5 separate regions of the Homo sapiens genome follow, and all the other regions are linked to region 3. Evidence: promoter capture Hi-C in human tissues and cell types (Jung and others, 2019). All regions are on one chromosome and are shown on one strand. Each heading gives the region's core, a stretch centred on a gene start or on the middle of the fragment in contact. The rest is flanking DNA. Distances are from core to core; before and after follow the strand shown. Region 1 has its middle 17 kb from the start of AARSD1. Region 2 overlaps STAT3 (signal transducer and activator of transcription 3). Region 3 holds the start of CCR10 (C-C motif chemokine receptor 10). Region 4 holds the start of NBR1 (NBR1 autophagy cargo receptor). Region 5 holds the start of AARSD1 (alanyl-tRNA synthetase domain containing 1).

Region 1 (2,700 bases), core at 69-2,568, 270 kb after region 3:
CCCGACCTCAGGTGATCCACCTGCCTCAGCCTCCCAAAGTGTTGGGATTACAGGCATGAGCCACAGCGCCGGCCCTGAATTCAGTCTGTCTACTGCTCTGGGTCTCTTCCACCTGATACCTTTCATCTTTCATACTAACATCTGTTCTAGTACCTACATGCATCACCTTAGTGGAAGCTACAGCAGCTGTCTTCAGCAATTTATGGGTACGCACATAAAAAAATTTCCTTAGAAGCCAAGGAGTCCCCCTTACTATTTCTGTGCCGTAAAGTGGGTTATAGTAACATTCCAGAATATATAACCTGTGTGTGTACCTAAAACTTGATTACTCCAATAAATGAACTCATTTTGTTTCCTGGTGAACCTCATAAAAGACAATCCACCCCTTCCCCTGAACACACTCTGTTCTTCTCCCCCTCTCCCTGGGGCATTGGATTAGGGCCTCAGTGACAGGCAAGAATGACATCACCAGTTCAAAAACTGCTGCTTTATTTTCTCTTTCTTTATACAACCAATTACCATTTTCACATAATTTGCTCAAGTGTTTATGGCTTTTCTTAATTATTTCATAAGGTTCCTTCCTTCTTAGGACACCCAGTTCATGTGTCCATTTTCAGGTCAAGAAACTGAAGCTCAGGGAGTCTCAGCAGGGGGACCAGACATCCAGGCTACCTTAACACCGTCTGGGTTTCTGACTGTTGTTCTGGCATGAGGTTTGCCTAACTCTGGATATTAAAATTACATGGTTGCTCTAGGTCTAAGTGACAAGAACCCACCTGAGTGGTAGTGAGCAAGAGTGGCCTCCCAGGTCACTGTTCTTGTTGTTGCACCTGTGTTCTGAATCTTTGTGTACCCCTAAAAATTCATATGTTGAAATCCTAACCCCCTAAGTGGTATCAGGAGGTGGGCCCTTTAGCAGGTGATTAGGTCACGGGGGCAGAGCCTTCGTGAATGAAATTAGTGCATTATAAAAGAGGCCCGAGAGGGCTGGGTGCGGAGGCTCATGCCTGTAATCCCAGCACTTTGGGAGGCTGAGGCAGGCGGATCACCTGAGGTCAGGAGTTCGAGACCAGCCTGGCCAACATGGTGAAACCCCATCTCTACTAAAAATACAAAATATTAGCTGGGTGGGATGGCAGGCGCCTGTAATCCCAGCTACTCGGGAGGCTGAGGCAGGAGAATCACTTGAACCTAGGGGGTGGAGGTTGCAGTGAGCTGAGATTGCACCATTGCACTTCAGCCTGAGCAACAAGAGTGAAACTCCATCTGTCTCAAAAAAAAAAAAAAAAAAAAAAGGCCCAAGAAAGACCCCTTACCCTTTGCACCAAGGGTGCAAAAAGATGGCTATTCCTGAACCAGTATTTGAACCTTCACACCAGACACTGAATTTGCCAGCTTCCCAGCCTCCACTGTGAGAAATACATTTTTGTTGTTTATAAGCTACCTAGTTTTTGTTATTATAGCAGTCAGATCAGACTAAGGCACACCCTAAAGAAACAAACACAGAGAGGGACAGAGATCTCACACAGAGACAAATTCACATGGGTCTCTGTTCAAGATCCTGCCTGAGTCCTTCTACAAAAGTAAGGAAGCTTCTGTGAAGCAAACATTTCCCTTTCTCCCACTAATGGACCCATTTTGTATAGCATGAGTGTTACACTATGGTTTTATCTAAAACATGGCACTCTGAGAAAAGCAAGATGCAGAAGAGTATACAATGTGCTACCATTTATGTTTAAAAAGAGGGAAGATTTATGTACATCTATTTTTTAAAATACTACCAGAGGGATATATAAGAAATTGGTAACAGGCTGGGCATGGTGGCTCACGCCTGTAATCCCAACACTGGGAGGCCAAAGTGGACAAATTGCTAGAGCCCAGGAGTTCAAGACTAGTGTGGGCAACACGGCAAAGCACTGTCTCTAGAAAAAATACAAAAAATTAGCCAGGTGTGGTGGTGCACACCTCTAGTCCCAGCTACTCAGAGGGCTGAGGTGGGAGGATCACCTGTTCCCAGGAGGTTGAGACTGCAGTAAGCCATGATTGTGCCACTGCATTCCAGCCTGGGCAACAGAGTGAGACTATATCTGGAAAAAAAAAAAAAAAAAAGGCCAGGCATGGTGGCTCATACTTGTAATCCCAGCACTTTGGGAGGCCGAGGCCGGCGGATTACCTGAGGTCAGGAGCTCGAGACCAGCCTGGCCAACATGGTGAAACCCCATCTCTACTAAAAATACAAAATTAGCCGGGCATGGTGGCACATGCCTGTAATCCCAGCTACTCGGTAGGCTGAGGCAGGAGAATTGCTTGAACTCGGGAGGCGGAGGTTGCAGTGAGCGGAGACTGCGCCATTGCACTCCAGCCTGGGCAACAAGAGCGAAACTCCATCTAAAACAAAAAAATTAAGTGATTGATTCTGGAGAAAGAAATTGGGTAACTCAGTGGCAGGGTTGAAGGAAATTTTTGGTAGCACACACCTGTAATCCCAGCTACTTGGGTGGCTGAGGCACAAGAATTGCTTGAACCCAGGAAGCGGAGGTTGCAGTGAGCCAAAATCATGCCACTGCACTCCGGCCTAGGTGGCAGAACAAGACTCTTATCTCCAAAAAAAAAAAAAGTTCCTTTCAGAGTCGGAAGAACAAATAGCTGAACACAGCCACAGCCACAGCCACAGGTTATCTCCCCTGGATGTCAGCTTTT
Region 2 (2,804 bases), core at 1-2,500, 340 kb before region 3:
TTCCATTCAGATCTTGCATGTCTGCGAAGGAAGAAAAAACTCCTTGACCTGAGGGAATACTCCTTGACCTGAGGGAATACTCCTTGACCTGAGGGAATACTCCTGGACCTGAGGGAATACTCCTGGACCTGAGGGAATACTCCTGGACCTGAGGGAATACTCCTTGACCTGAGGGAATACTCCTGGACCTGAGGGAATACTCCTGGACCTGAGGGAATACTCCTGGACCTGAGGGAATACTCCTGGACCTGAGGGAATACTCCTGGACCTGAGGGAATACTCCTGGACCTGAGGGAATACTCCTGGACCTGAGGGAATACTCCTGGACCTGAGGGAATACTCCTTGACCTGAGGGAATACTCCTGGACCTGAGGGAATACTCCTGGACCTGAGGGAATACTCCTGGACCTGAGGGAATACTCCTTGACCTGAGGGAATACTCCTGGACCTGAGGGAATACTCCTGGACCTGAGGGAATACTCCTGGACCTGAGGGAATACTCCTGGACCTGAGGGAATACTCCTGGACCTGAGGGAATACTCCTTGACCTGAGGGAATACTCCTGGACCTGAGGGAATACTCCTGGACCTGAGGGAATACTCCTGGACCTGAGGGAATACTCCTGGACCTGAGGGAATACTCCTGGACCTGAGGGAATACTCCTTGACCTGAGGGAATACTCCTTGACCTGAGGGAATACTCCTGGACCTGAGGGAATACTCCTGGACCTGAGGGAATACTCCTGTCCTTAATGACCAGGCTCCTTTGAGGACCCGTACCTCCCTTGCGCCCCGCCCGCCTTAAGATCTAAACAGAGTTAAGACAAATGAGTCTTTCAACTCAACAACACAAACTCACTTTCTAGAGATTTTAACATCTCTAATATTCACTTGCCTCCTTGACTCTTGAGGGTTTTATAGTTGAAATCAAAGTCATCCTGGAGATTCTCTACCACTTTCATTTTCTGTTCTAGATCCTGTTTAAAATAAGCAAACAAAAAAACAGAAGTAAAGAAAGATTTCCTTGGGAACAGAAAATATAAAGTTTCTGAGGAGAATTCAAATGAAGCCAAAACCTCAAAAAAGATACATGCAGGACCTGCAGGCAGTATCCCCAAGAGAAGGCTCCCTGTTGGCCAGGTGCAGTGGCTCACGCCTGTAATGCCAGCACTTTGAGAGGCTGAGTTGGGAGGATCACTTGAGCCCAGGAGTTCATGATCAGCCTGGACAACACAGGGAGACCCCCATCTCTACAAATTTTTTTTTTTTAATTAGCTGGGCGTGGTGGTGCATGCCTGTGGTCCCGGCTACTTGGGAGGATGAGGTAGGAGGATCGCTTGGGCCTGAGAGGTCGAGGCTGCAGTGAGCTGTGATCATGCCACTGCAGCCCAGCCTGAGTGGCAGAGCAAGACCCTGTCTCAAAAAAAAAAAAAAAAATTAATGAAAGCTCCCTGCCCGAGGCTTGTAACTTGCATCACCTGCACTCTCTTCCGGACATCCTGAAGGTGCTGCTCCAGCATCTGCTGCTTCTCCGTCACCACGGCTGCTGTGGGGTGGTTGGCCTGGCCCCCTTGCTGCCAAAAAGGAGGTCAATGCACATGTGAACACAGAACTATGGGGAGAGGAATACCTCTACCCAGCTTCCATCCCACCCTAACTACCCTTCTTGTTTGGCTTGAGACGCTGCTGCCATCACAAGAGGAAGGGAAACAGAGGCAGTGGTGCTGTCACTACACAGGTGACACTACACAGGTCATACCATAAACCCCCTTTATGGCACTAAGAGACCACATGTTCAGCTAAGACATGGTCTATGCCTTCAAAAACCTCATGGGCAAGTATGTCAAAAAATTCAAAACAATTTATGACAGCAGATGTTGGATGTCTACTTAAACGTGGTGTCCAGTATATTTCTGAGGGATAATAAAAAAAAAGTCCTGCCCTAGGGATGAAATTCCATATTAAAAGATATTATCTTGGGGAGAAGGGGAGGCTGGTACCTTGGAAAATGTCAAATAGCACATGGAAAAAGAAAAAGAAGAAAGAAGGCTGGATGTAGCAGCTCACACCTATAATATCAGCACTTGGGAAGGCTGAAGTGGGAGGACTGCTTGAGGCCAGGAGTTCAAAACTAGCCTAGTCAACATAGTGAGGCCCCATCTCGAATGAATAAATGAATGAATGAATTAAAGAAATAACAAAAAATAAATAGCATATGAAACTTAAAAATTACAGGTTCGTGCCAGGTGCGGTGGCTGATGCCTGTAATCCCAGCACTTTGGGAGGCCAAGGTGGGCAGATTACCTGAGGTCAGGAGTTTGAGACCAGCCTGACCGACACGGAGAAACCCATCTCTACTAAAAATACAAAGTTAGCTGAGCTTGGTGGTGCATGCCTGTAATCCCAGCTACTCGGGAGGCTGAGGAAGGAGAATCGCCTGAACCCGGGAGGTGGAGGTTGTGGTGAGCCAAGACTGCGCCATGCACTCCAGCCTGAGCAACAAAAGTGAAACTCCATCTCAAAAAAAAAAAAAAAAAATTACAGGCTTGGGCTAGGCATGGTAGCTCCCACCTATAATCCTAGCACTTTGGGAAACCAAGGCAGGAGGATCACTTGAGGCTGGGAGTTTGAGACCGGCCCAGGGAACATAGAAAGAGACCTCATCTCAACCAAAAAAAAAAAAAAATTTTTTTTTAACTAGCTGGGCATGGTGGCATATACCTGTAGTTCTAGCTACTTGGGAGGCTGAGGTGGGAGGATCATTTAAGTCCAGAAGTTTGAGGCCACACTACAGCCAGTTTTATG
Region 3 (2,802 bases), core at 2-2,501:
TCCCCAGAGTAATGGCCCCAGGAAACCTGGGAGGGTCAAATGAGAGGCGGGATCTTATGAGACACATCTGACCACACAACTCCCCCGCCCACACTTGCCTTCCAAGCTGAGAGCTCCTGTGTGGCCAGATGTAACAGTACACGGGGAGACATAAGCTCTTCTCCAGACTCTTCCTAGCACACCTTCAGCAGGCCTTGGCTTCCCTTGCACCCCTCCTACCTCTGCTTCCAGCTTCCTGGGTGACCTTGAGCAAGCCACTTGCTCTTTCTAGACCTCAGTTACCTAACCTGTAATGTTGAGATTATAAATCCTGACCAGCCCACCTCTCAAGGTTTGCTGTGAAGATGGCAATATGGAAAATAATGGATGGGGAGAACCTGTGTTCTCCAAAGGCCATAATACAAAGTTTGTATTATTATTATTATTTATTATTATTATTATTGGAGACAGAGTCTTGCTCTGTCGCCCAGGCTGGAGTGCAGTGGCACGATCTCGGCTCACTGCAACCTCCGCCTCCGGGTTCAAGAGATTCTCCTGCCTCAGCCTCCCAAGTAGCTGGGACTACAGGCGCCCACCACCACGCCCAGCTAATTTTTGTATTTTTAGTAGAGATGGGGTTTCACCATGTTGGCCAGGATGGTCTCGAACTCCTGACCTCAGGTGATCCGCCCACCTTGGCCTCCCAAAGTACTGGGATTACAGGCCTGAGCTACCACGCCCAGCCCAAAGTTTGTATTATTAATAAATCCTACAGCTTCAGTTCCCTTTGCAGCGCCCTCTCCTGGAAGGATGCCCATATGCAGGCTTTGCCTCAGACCTGAGCCCTGGACTCCAACCTCCGTCTGGAGTGGGTTTCTGTTTCTCTTCTTTCCCTTCCATACCCACCTTCCCTGTACCTCCAATACCAGCACACTGAACCACTCATGCCAAGGGGGTCTCCAGGGTTGGGACTCAGGTTTTCAGGGCCCAGGTGGGACCCTGGACCTCTAGGTTCAACCCGCCTTTCCCCTCAGCCCTAGTCCCTGTCCCACAACCCCAGCCTCACACCACCAGCCCATTTATCTGGAGGACCCCTAGTCTGAGACAGCGCCAAGAATCCTGAATAAGCCATAGGATGGCAGAGGCCCATTGCCAGGTGGGGAATCCCATTCCTTCCCTGTCTCCTCCCTCTCTGTAACCCTTCTCCCCCTCCCTGCCCCCACTCCCACCTGCTCTGTGGCCTCCGTCCCCATCTCTGGCTACACAGGTTTCTGAGGTATAGCCACAGGGGGTAGAAGTTAAACTACTAGCGGGACAGGAAGGAAGAGGCGGGGAGAGGGGCCGAGAGGGAGGTGGGGATTAGGGTCTACGGGGTCACTTTCCCATTCCACCTCCTCCAAAAGACTTCACTCTCTTGTGCAGGATCTGGATTTTACGAAAAAAAAAAAAAGAAGAAGAAAGGAAGGAAAGAGGAAAGAAAGAAAGAAAGAAAGAAAAAAAGGAAGGAAAGAAAGAAAAAAGAATGAACGAAAGAAAGAAAAAATAATTTACTGTCTTTGTCAGTGAAGAAAGAACGGGCTTCGGAATATAATCATTTGCTGTGTGATATTGACTAAGTTTCTTGACCTCTCTGAGCCTGAGGTTTTTCATCTGCAAAGTGGAGTAGGGCAAAAATGCTAAATTCACAGTGCCCAGCACCACTCCTAGAGCATAATTTGCCTTCCGAAAATGTTAAGATTCTTTTACTTACCCTTCATTCCATTTCCAGGCACCCCTCCCCCAAACCACCTCCCTTTTCTTGAAATTTTCAGGATGCTTCTGGCCCTAGGTTCCCTGTCCTCACTCCTGTGGCCCTAGTCCCGGGCAGCCTCGGGTTACTTGGGGTTTTCCCGGTGGCGAGAGGCTCTCTACCCCCGCCCTTTCGCAGCAGGGCTGAGGCACGCGCTTGCGCGGGGTCCGGGAAACCGGCGCGTGCCAGGAGACAGAGGCTGGGGAAGGGGGGAGGTGAGAGGAAAGAGGGTGGAAAGGAGAGGATAGAGAGAGAAGAGCGGAGGACCAGGAACCAGAGAGAGAGAGAGAGAAAAGAGAGAGGAGAGACAGAGCGCTTGGGGGCGAAAGGAGAGAGGGAGGGAAGGGTGGGTAAGGAGGAGAGAGCGGTCTGCTGCAAACCCCAGGAGGAGAGCTTGGAGCCCAAGCCAGAACTCGAGCCCTAGCCGGAGCCGTTCACAGGGAGGCGGCTGCCGGGACCGTCAGCCCTGCATGATGCATCTCCGGCTCTTCTGCATCCTGCTCGCCGCGGTCTCAGGAGCCGAGGGCTGGGGCTACTGTGAGTGTTGGGCTTGGAGGCAGGTGGGGTTGGGCCCAGGAGTCCAGAGCCTGCAGGGCGGCCCCGAACCGCATTGCGGCTGGGTGGTCGCGGGTCCTTCCCGGCCGGCGCGCGCCCGCTGGCTCTCATCTTTTCCTGCCTCTCCCCCGCGCTCCGCATTGCAGCTCTGAGGCTGCCGCGCGCGCCCGGGGCTGGGGCTGGGCTCTGGGAAGAGGATGAAGTCAGCGGGCAGGGATTTGGGGTTGGGATCCAAGCAGGAGCTGGTGCCTGGGTTTGAGGCTAGGGCTGGGGGATAAGTGTATACTGGTGACCGATACTAGGATTAAGGTTTTGCCAGGGCTTAAGGCTGGACTTTGGAGCTGGCCAAGGGGTGGGGTTTGTGGCTAGGGCTGGGGTTTGTGGCTGGGGCTGGGTTTTGTGGCAGGGATCCAAGCAGGAGCTGGTGCCCCTGACTGATGCTAAGGCTGGACATGGAGCTGGTGATGGTGCTAGCACTG
Region 4 (2,700 bases), core at 46-2,545, 490 kb after region 3:
GTTGGCCAGGACCTTTGCAAACAAGCCAGGCCAAAAAGTTTCAATATTTACACTGGCTGCTTTAATAAGGGCATTGATCTTATCCTCCGTAAAGGTCACCTCATAGTCCTGCAGAATGAGGGCAGAGTAGATGCAGGCAAGCTGGGAGACGGAGGCCATAGCGCGGGCGAGTGTGGGGCTGGGGCTGCCGGACGCGGTGCTACTCACCGGATGAAGTGAGGGTCTCACCCCAACGCGGCCTTAGCTTCCTCGGAAGGACCGAACACCTTGGCGGCAGCCGAGGAAAGGGGTTCCACAGTTTTAATTTATCTGTAATTCCCACGCTTTACTGTTGCCACGGAAACCGCTGAGCAATAGCCTCTCAGAATAGGAAATCAAGACACAGTCAGAGGAAGGGCGGGACAGAAAGAGCCTAGCATCTCTCGGGGCTCTGGGTTGGCCACCCAGTCCTCCCCTGGTGACATAAAAAGAAAGAGACGGAAAAGGAAGAATTCTACCTGAGTTCGCCGTAAAGCGCCCGCCCTCTCGCCTCTACGCTTCCAGTTGCGGCTTATTACGTCACAGTAATTGCTGTACCAAGGTCAGAATCGCCACCTGAGGCCTGAATATCAGCGTAAGATAGTGTCCAAAGCAGTCTTAAGAAGAGGTCCCATTACCCCACTCTTTCCGCCCTAATGGAGGTCTCCAGTTTAGGTAAATAAAAGGATTGTTGGGAGGTGGAGGGAAAGAACTACTATTTCCAACATGCATTGCGGAACGAAAGGCCTTGGCCACACTGTTCCTTGGAAACTGTAGTCTTATGGAGAGGAACATCCAATACCAAAGCGGGCACAATTCTCACGGAAATCCAGTGGATAGATTGGAGACCTCCGCGGGCTTATACATGTCAACAGTAATGGATTGGAGTGTTGTTATGTTCTCCTATCTTGAGAGCAGAGACTAGGCCAAAAAAAGATACCTACAACTCCTAGGAAGACTACGATTCCCATCCAGCCCCACGAGTCTCGGGCAAGTAGTCCTCTAAGGTCAGTGGCCTGCGGGGACGCAGTGGGCGCCGAATTTGCCTGGGGAAGGGGAAATCCGCTCTGGCCCACATCTGCGCACTCCTAGTTCCGCCCCTCAGCCTCAATGTTTGTTATTGTTGTTCGGGTTCAGGTTGCTTCTGCCCCGCCCCATCGACGCAATCTCCACCAATCAATGGCGTGGTCGTTTTGAGGGACAAGTGGTGAGAGCCAATCATCTTGGCGAACACTCGGAGAAACAGGGGACTAGTTACTGTCTTTATCCGCCATGTTAGATTCACCCCACAGGGATAGCGGCAGAGCCGGTAGCGGACGGTCCTTGCATTGGCCTCCGGCAGGCGCCCCCCGGGGGCGGGAAGCTGGTAAGGAAGCAGCTGCGGTTACCTAGGGGTGGGGTCACGTCACGCTAAGAGGGTTTGGGGAAGTTCAAGGGAGGAATCCTGCAAAGAAGAGGGGCGACTTTTTCCGTGTTTCGGGACAGCTAATCTTTTTAGTGACAGGATGAGAGAGCCCTTCATGTTCAGAGGGACCGAGTTGGCGAGAAGCGCCGGAGAGTTGGAGAGTCTGTGGGTCAGAACATCCGGCTTCTACTGATGGAAGGCCACGACTCCCCAGTGGAATGAGGGCCTAGGCAAAGAAAATGAGAGAGCCCTCGGGGTAGTGACACTGTCTTGGGAACATGGAGTGCTAGGAAACGAAAACTGGAAGACTAGGATGAACTCTGCAAGTAAAAAAATGACACTACTTACACATCCTTCTCATCCCATCCTCGTTTTTTCGAGACCTTAAAGAGATCTCCTTGGTTAGGGACCTTCGGTTTTGGAAAGGCACTGTTTTTCCTTTTTGTCAAACACTCAGCTTTCAGGCCACACTTTTTTGAGACAGAGTCTTGCTTTCTCAAAGACCAACCCAGGCTGGGCTTGAACTGCTGAGCTCAAGCGATCCTCGTGCCTTGGCCTCCCAAAGTGCTGGGATTACAGGTATAAGCCACCGCTCCCGGCCTCAGGTCACACATTTTAAAGCCTGGATAACTTGGCTTGTAAAGGCCTCTGGTGGAGACAGTAATCAAAGCTCAGGTTGCCAGGTCTGTTTCATTAAAGGGATTTTGTTGAGGCTGAAAAAAAAATCGACGTGGAGGAAAAGCTAACTTGTGCCAAGCAAAGGTGAGTCAGTGGCATGGACTTACAATAATGCCAGTTATGAAAGCTGAAGGCCTAAGACCCAGCTATCTGACTCTACTGGCTGTAGACCTAAGGGGCAGATAGGGTTAACCATAGCTTTGGTGTTTACACACGTTTAAGATTAATGCTCCTGCTGAAAGAATTTTTTTACATGTCAGCCAAAGAGAGTTCCTTATGAAGACCTGGATATGGTCCAGCCAAGCTAGAATCTCCCACTTCCTGTTTTCTCTTAGTTGGCCCACCAGCTGGAGGAGCTCCAGAGTATCTAAATTTCCAATTGTGTAATTTGAGAAAAAGAGAGGAAGATTCATTTCCTTCACAAGTAGGGAAGTGTGTTTCTTGAAGTTGGAAAGTGATATTTCAGAATACCCACTTTTGGCGGACTGAGTCACTTCATTTCCTTGATTTTTTGCCTAAGGTCCTGGGGAATTGACAAAGATTCTCAAATTTTAAGGACCCCAATAATTACATTTCATATGAATGAATACTAGATGTCA
Region 5 (2,764 bases), core at 265-2,764, 280 kb after region 3:
CTTGAGCCTGGGAGTTCGAGGCTGCAGTGAGCTAGATCAGGCCACTGCACTCCAGCCTGGGTGACATAGCAAGATCCTGTCTCTTAAAAATAAAAAAGAAAGAAAATAACCTGCATGGTTCGCTGCCCACACACCTTAATACACCTTTTTTTTTTCTTTTGAGACGGAGTCTTGTTCTGTCCCCCACGCTGAAGTGCAGTGGCACAATCTTGGCTCACTGCAACTTCAGCCTCCCGGTTCAAGTGATTCTCATGCCTCAGCCTCCCGAGTAGCTGGGACTACAGGGGCCTGCCAGTATGCCTGGTTAATTTTTATATTTTTAGTAGAGACAAGGTTTCATCATGTTGGTCAGGCTACTTGGGAGGCTGAGACAGGAGAATCACTTGAACCCAGGAGGCGGAGGTTGCAGAGCTGAGATCATGCCACTGCACTTCAGCCTGATGACAGCGAGAGATTCTGTCTCAAAAAAAAAAAGAAAGAAAGAAAGAAAAGAAAAGAAAGAAAAGCCTTTCTCATAATGCCCACCTTTGGTGTTATTATCCTCCTCTTCCATCTTCACAATGTACCTCACTTGCGCTCATGTTGTACCTAGTCCTCATCACAGCACTGATAAATATGCTCTCTGCTGTACTACTGTAACCCGTCTATCTCACCTGAACTCCTTCAGGAACATCTTTTTCAGTCCCTAAAACCCGAAGCTAATTCCTTCCTTGGGGCCTTTGCACCTGCTATTCTACCTGCCTGAATACTCCCTCTGCCCCCCAGCACCACTAGATAATTGCAAAGACTCACCCCCTCACTTCGTTTAGGTCTCTACTGAAATAACTTACCCTTCATCTAGACAAGCATCCCATCACTCTCTTTCCCTTTACTTGGTTTTTGTTTATTACTTATTATACCTAGCACACACAGTTGTCTTCAATAAACATTCCACGTATATAAAGGCACTGTGTTGTTCACCGGTTATCCTTACAGCCTGGAATAATATCTAGCATATGTTATGTCTAGATAAGCAATTGCTGATAAATACTCATTAAATGAATAACAAAATGAATTAAACTAAAGCTCATCTGAATTCATTATGGCTGAGAAAAAAGGGGCAGGAGAGCATTTCGGCCTGAGCACAAAGAAACTGGGGGCTTCCTGGGAAGAGATCGTTTTGGTACCTGTCCCCCGCCCTCAGGGAAAAGCACTGTGTCTTCCAGCACCACTTGGAAACCGCTCAGCACTTCTTTCTTGCCGTTGCTCCCTTCAGTCTGCAGCTCCGCGGGACAGCAGGAGACCACGGTGGTGGTGAACTGAACAGAGAGGAATGAGAGAATAAGCCCCGACCCCAGCCCTAGCCCTAGCCCTCTCCACACCAGGACAGAATGCCATGTTGGCACTCCCTACACGTGGCGCCCTCTTCCCCAAACCGCCTTGCCGGCCCGGCAGTCTCAAGTGCCTCGCCGTGACGCCGTACCTCTCGGGCATAACTGTCACGCTGACACCAGAACGCCATACCTGCAGGCGTGTGAGGAGGCGCACGCGCAGAGAAGCCTGGGAGCGAACGGAGAGCGACGTGGGACAAACGTCATCAAGGGCGCTTGTCTGCGCAGAAGCAGGAGGGTAAGGAATGGAATGCGGTTTGGATAAATTTACTGAAAACGCGAATTGCATATTTGCTGGGTTGTTTAACGACTGTTCTAAGGCTTTACAAAGGACAAGACCAGGAGGAAAAAAACAAACAAACAAAAACAAAAAAACGCGACCTGGACAAGGCACGTGGTTTAGTGAGCCCCTTGGGGCCCCAGGGATGTAAGTATTCTGGCTGCGGAATCCCAGCGCATAGAGGCGGGGACGGGACTGGCATGGTTACTGAGCAGCACTGCCCAGTAGAAATAGAAAGCAAGGAGCTGGGGGAGGTGGCTCACGCCTGTAATCCCAGCATTTTGGGAGGTCGAGGCGGGTGGATCACCTCAGGCCAGGAGTTCGAGACCAGCCTGGCCAACATAGCGAAACTCCGTCTCTACTAAAAATACAAAAATTAGCCGGGCGTGGTGGCGGGCGCCTGTAATCCCAGCTACCCGGGAGGCTGAGGCAGGAGAATCGCTGGAACCCGGGAGGCGGGGTTGCAGTGAGCAGAGATTGCACCACTGCACTCCAGCCTGGGCGACAGAGCGAGACTCCGTCTCAATTAAAAAAAAAAAAAAAAAAAAAAAAAAAGGCCGAGCGCGGTGACTCACGCCTGTAATCCCAGCACTTTGGGAGGCCGAGGCGGGCGGATCACGAGGTCAGGATATCGAGACCATCCTGACTAACGCGGTGAAATCCCGTCTCTACTAAAAATACAAAAAATTAGCCGGGCGTGGTGGCGGACGCCTGTAGTCCCAGCTACTCCGGAGGCTGAGGCAGGAGAATGGCGTGAACCTGGGAGGCGGAGCTTGCAGTGAGCCGAGATCGCACCATTGCACTCCAGCCTGGGCGACAGAGCGAGACTCCGTCTCAAAAAAAAAAAAAAAAAAAAAAAAGAAGAACAATTTGGCCAGCGTGGCCAACATGGTGAAACCCTGTTTCTACTAAAAACACAAAAACATTAGCCAGGCGTGGTGGCACACGCCTATATAATCCCAGCTACACGGGAGGCTGAGGCAGGAGAATCACTTTAACCCGAGAGGAGGAGGTTGCAGTGAGCCGAAATCGTACCACTGCACTCCAGCCTGGGTAACCCAGCGAGACTACGTCTCAAGAAAATTACATTACATTACATTAAAATAGTTTGGGC

The links. The method cuts DNA at HindIII sites, captures the fragments that hold promoters and counts their contacts. A contact is called where the count stands out against the background at its distance.
Region 1: a fragment that was not itself captured here is called in contact with the fragment with the promoter of CCR10 in region 3 in 1 of the 25 tissues and cell types used here (mesendoderm cells).
Region 2: a contact is called between a fragment that was not itself captured here and the fragment with the promoter of CCR10 in region 3, in 1 of the 25 tissues and cell types used here (pancreas).
Region 4: a contact is called between the fragment with the promoter of NBR1 here and the fragment with the promoter of CCR10 in region 3, in 1 of the 25 tissues and cell types used here (mesendoderm cells).
Region 5: the fragment with the promoter of AARSD1 here is called in contact with the fragment with the promoter of CCR10 in region 3 in 1 of the 25 tissues and cell types used here (mesendoderm cells).

What each region holds. Positions count from the first base shown.
Region 1 is chr17:42,946,590-42,949,289 of GRCh38, forward strand. No RefSeq gene overlaps it. Among named protein-coding and RNA genes, the nearest start is that of AARSD1, 17 kb to the right of the region's middle. The HindIII fragment of the contact is 8,985 bases long and covers 1-2,700 here.
Region 2 is chr17:42,337,837-42,340,640 of GRCh38, forward strand. STAT3 (signal transducer and activator of transcription 3) reads right to left here. Exons shown (of 24, transcript NM_139276.3): 5 at 1,478-1,573; 6 at 895-976; 7 at 1-21. Among named protein-coding and RNA genes, the nearest start is that of STAT3, 49 kb to the right of the region's middle. RefSeq lists a silencer at 1-17. The HindIII fragment of the contact is 7,087 bases long and covers 1-2,804 here.
Region 3 is chr17:42,680,592-42,683,393 of GRCh38, forward strand. CCR10 (C-C motif chemokine receptor 10) reads right to left here and starts at 1,252. Exons shown (of 2, transcript NM_016602.3): 1 at 1,209-1,252; 2 at 1-26. The coding sequence starts at 1,232. CNTNAP1 (contactin associated protein 1) reads left to right here and starts at 1,940. Exons shown (of 24, transcript NM_003632.3): 1 at 1,940-2,305. The coding sequence starts at 2,239. RefSeq lists enhancers at 1-254, 1,473-2,091, 2,035-2,084, 2,345-2,394 and a silencer at 640-934. The HindIII fragment of the contact is 6,302 bases long and covers 1-2,802 here.
Region 4 is chr17:43,169,919-43,172,618 of GRCh38, forward strand. NBR1 (NBR1 autophagy cargo receptor) reads left to right here and starts at 1,296. Exons shown (of 21, transcript NM_005899.5): 1 at 1,296-1,384. It overlaps LOC101929767 (a long non-coding RNA gene), which reads right to left and starts at 485. Exons shown (of 2, transcript NR_110868.1): 1 at 208-485. It overlaps LOC124900391 (a long non-coding RNA gene), which reads right to left and starts at 1,046. Exons shown (of 2, transcript XR_007065760.1): 1 at 498-1,046. It also overlaps a transcript of BRCA1 not described here and the pseudogene BRCA1P1. RefSeq lists enhancers at 117-326, 597-646, 897-1,006, 1,327-1,436. The HindIII fragment of the contact is 14,047 bases long and covers 1-2,700 here.
Region 5 is chr17:42,962,940-42,965,703 of GRCh38, forward strand. AARSD1 (alanyl-tRNA synthetase domain containing 1) reads right to left here and starts at 1,515. Exons shown (of 12, transcript NM_001261434.2): 1 at 1,463-1,515; 2 at 1,167-1,298. The coding sequence starts at 1,501. PTGES3L-AARSD1 (PTGES3L-AARSD1 readthrough) reads right to left here. Exons shown (of 17, transcript NM_001136042.2): 7 at 1,167-1,298. The HindIII fragment of the contact is 19,831 bases long and covers 1-2,764 here.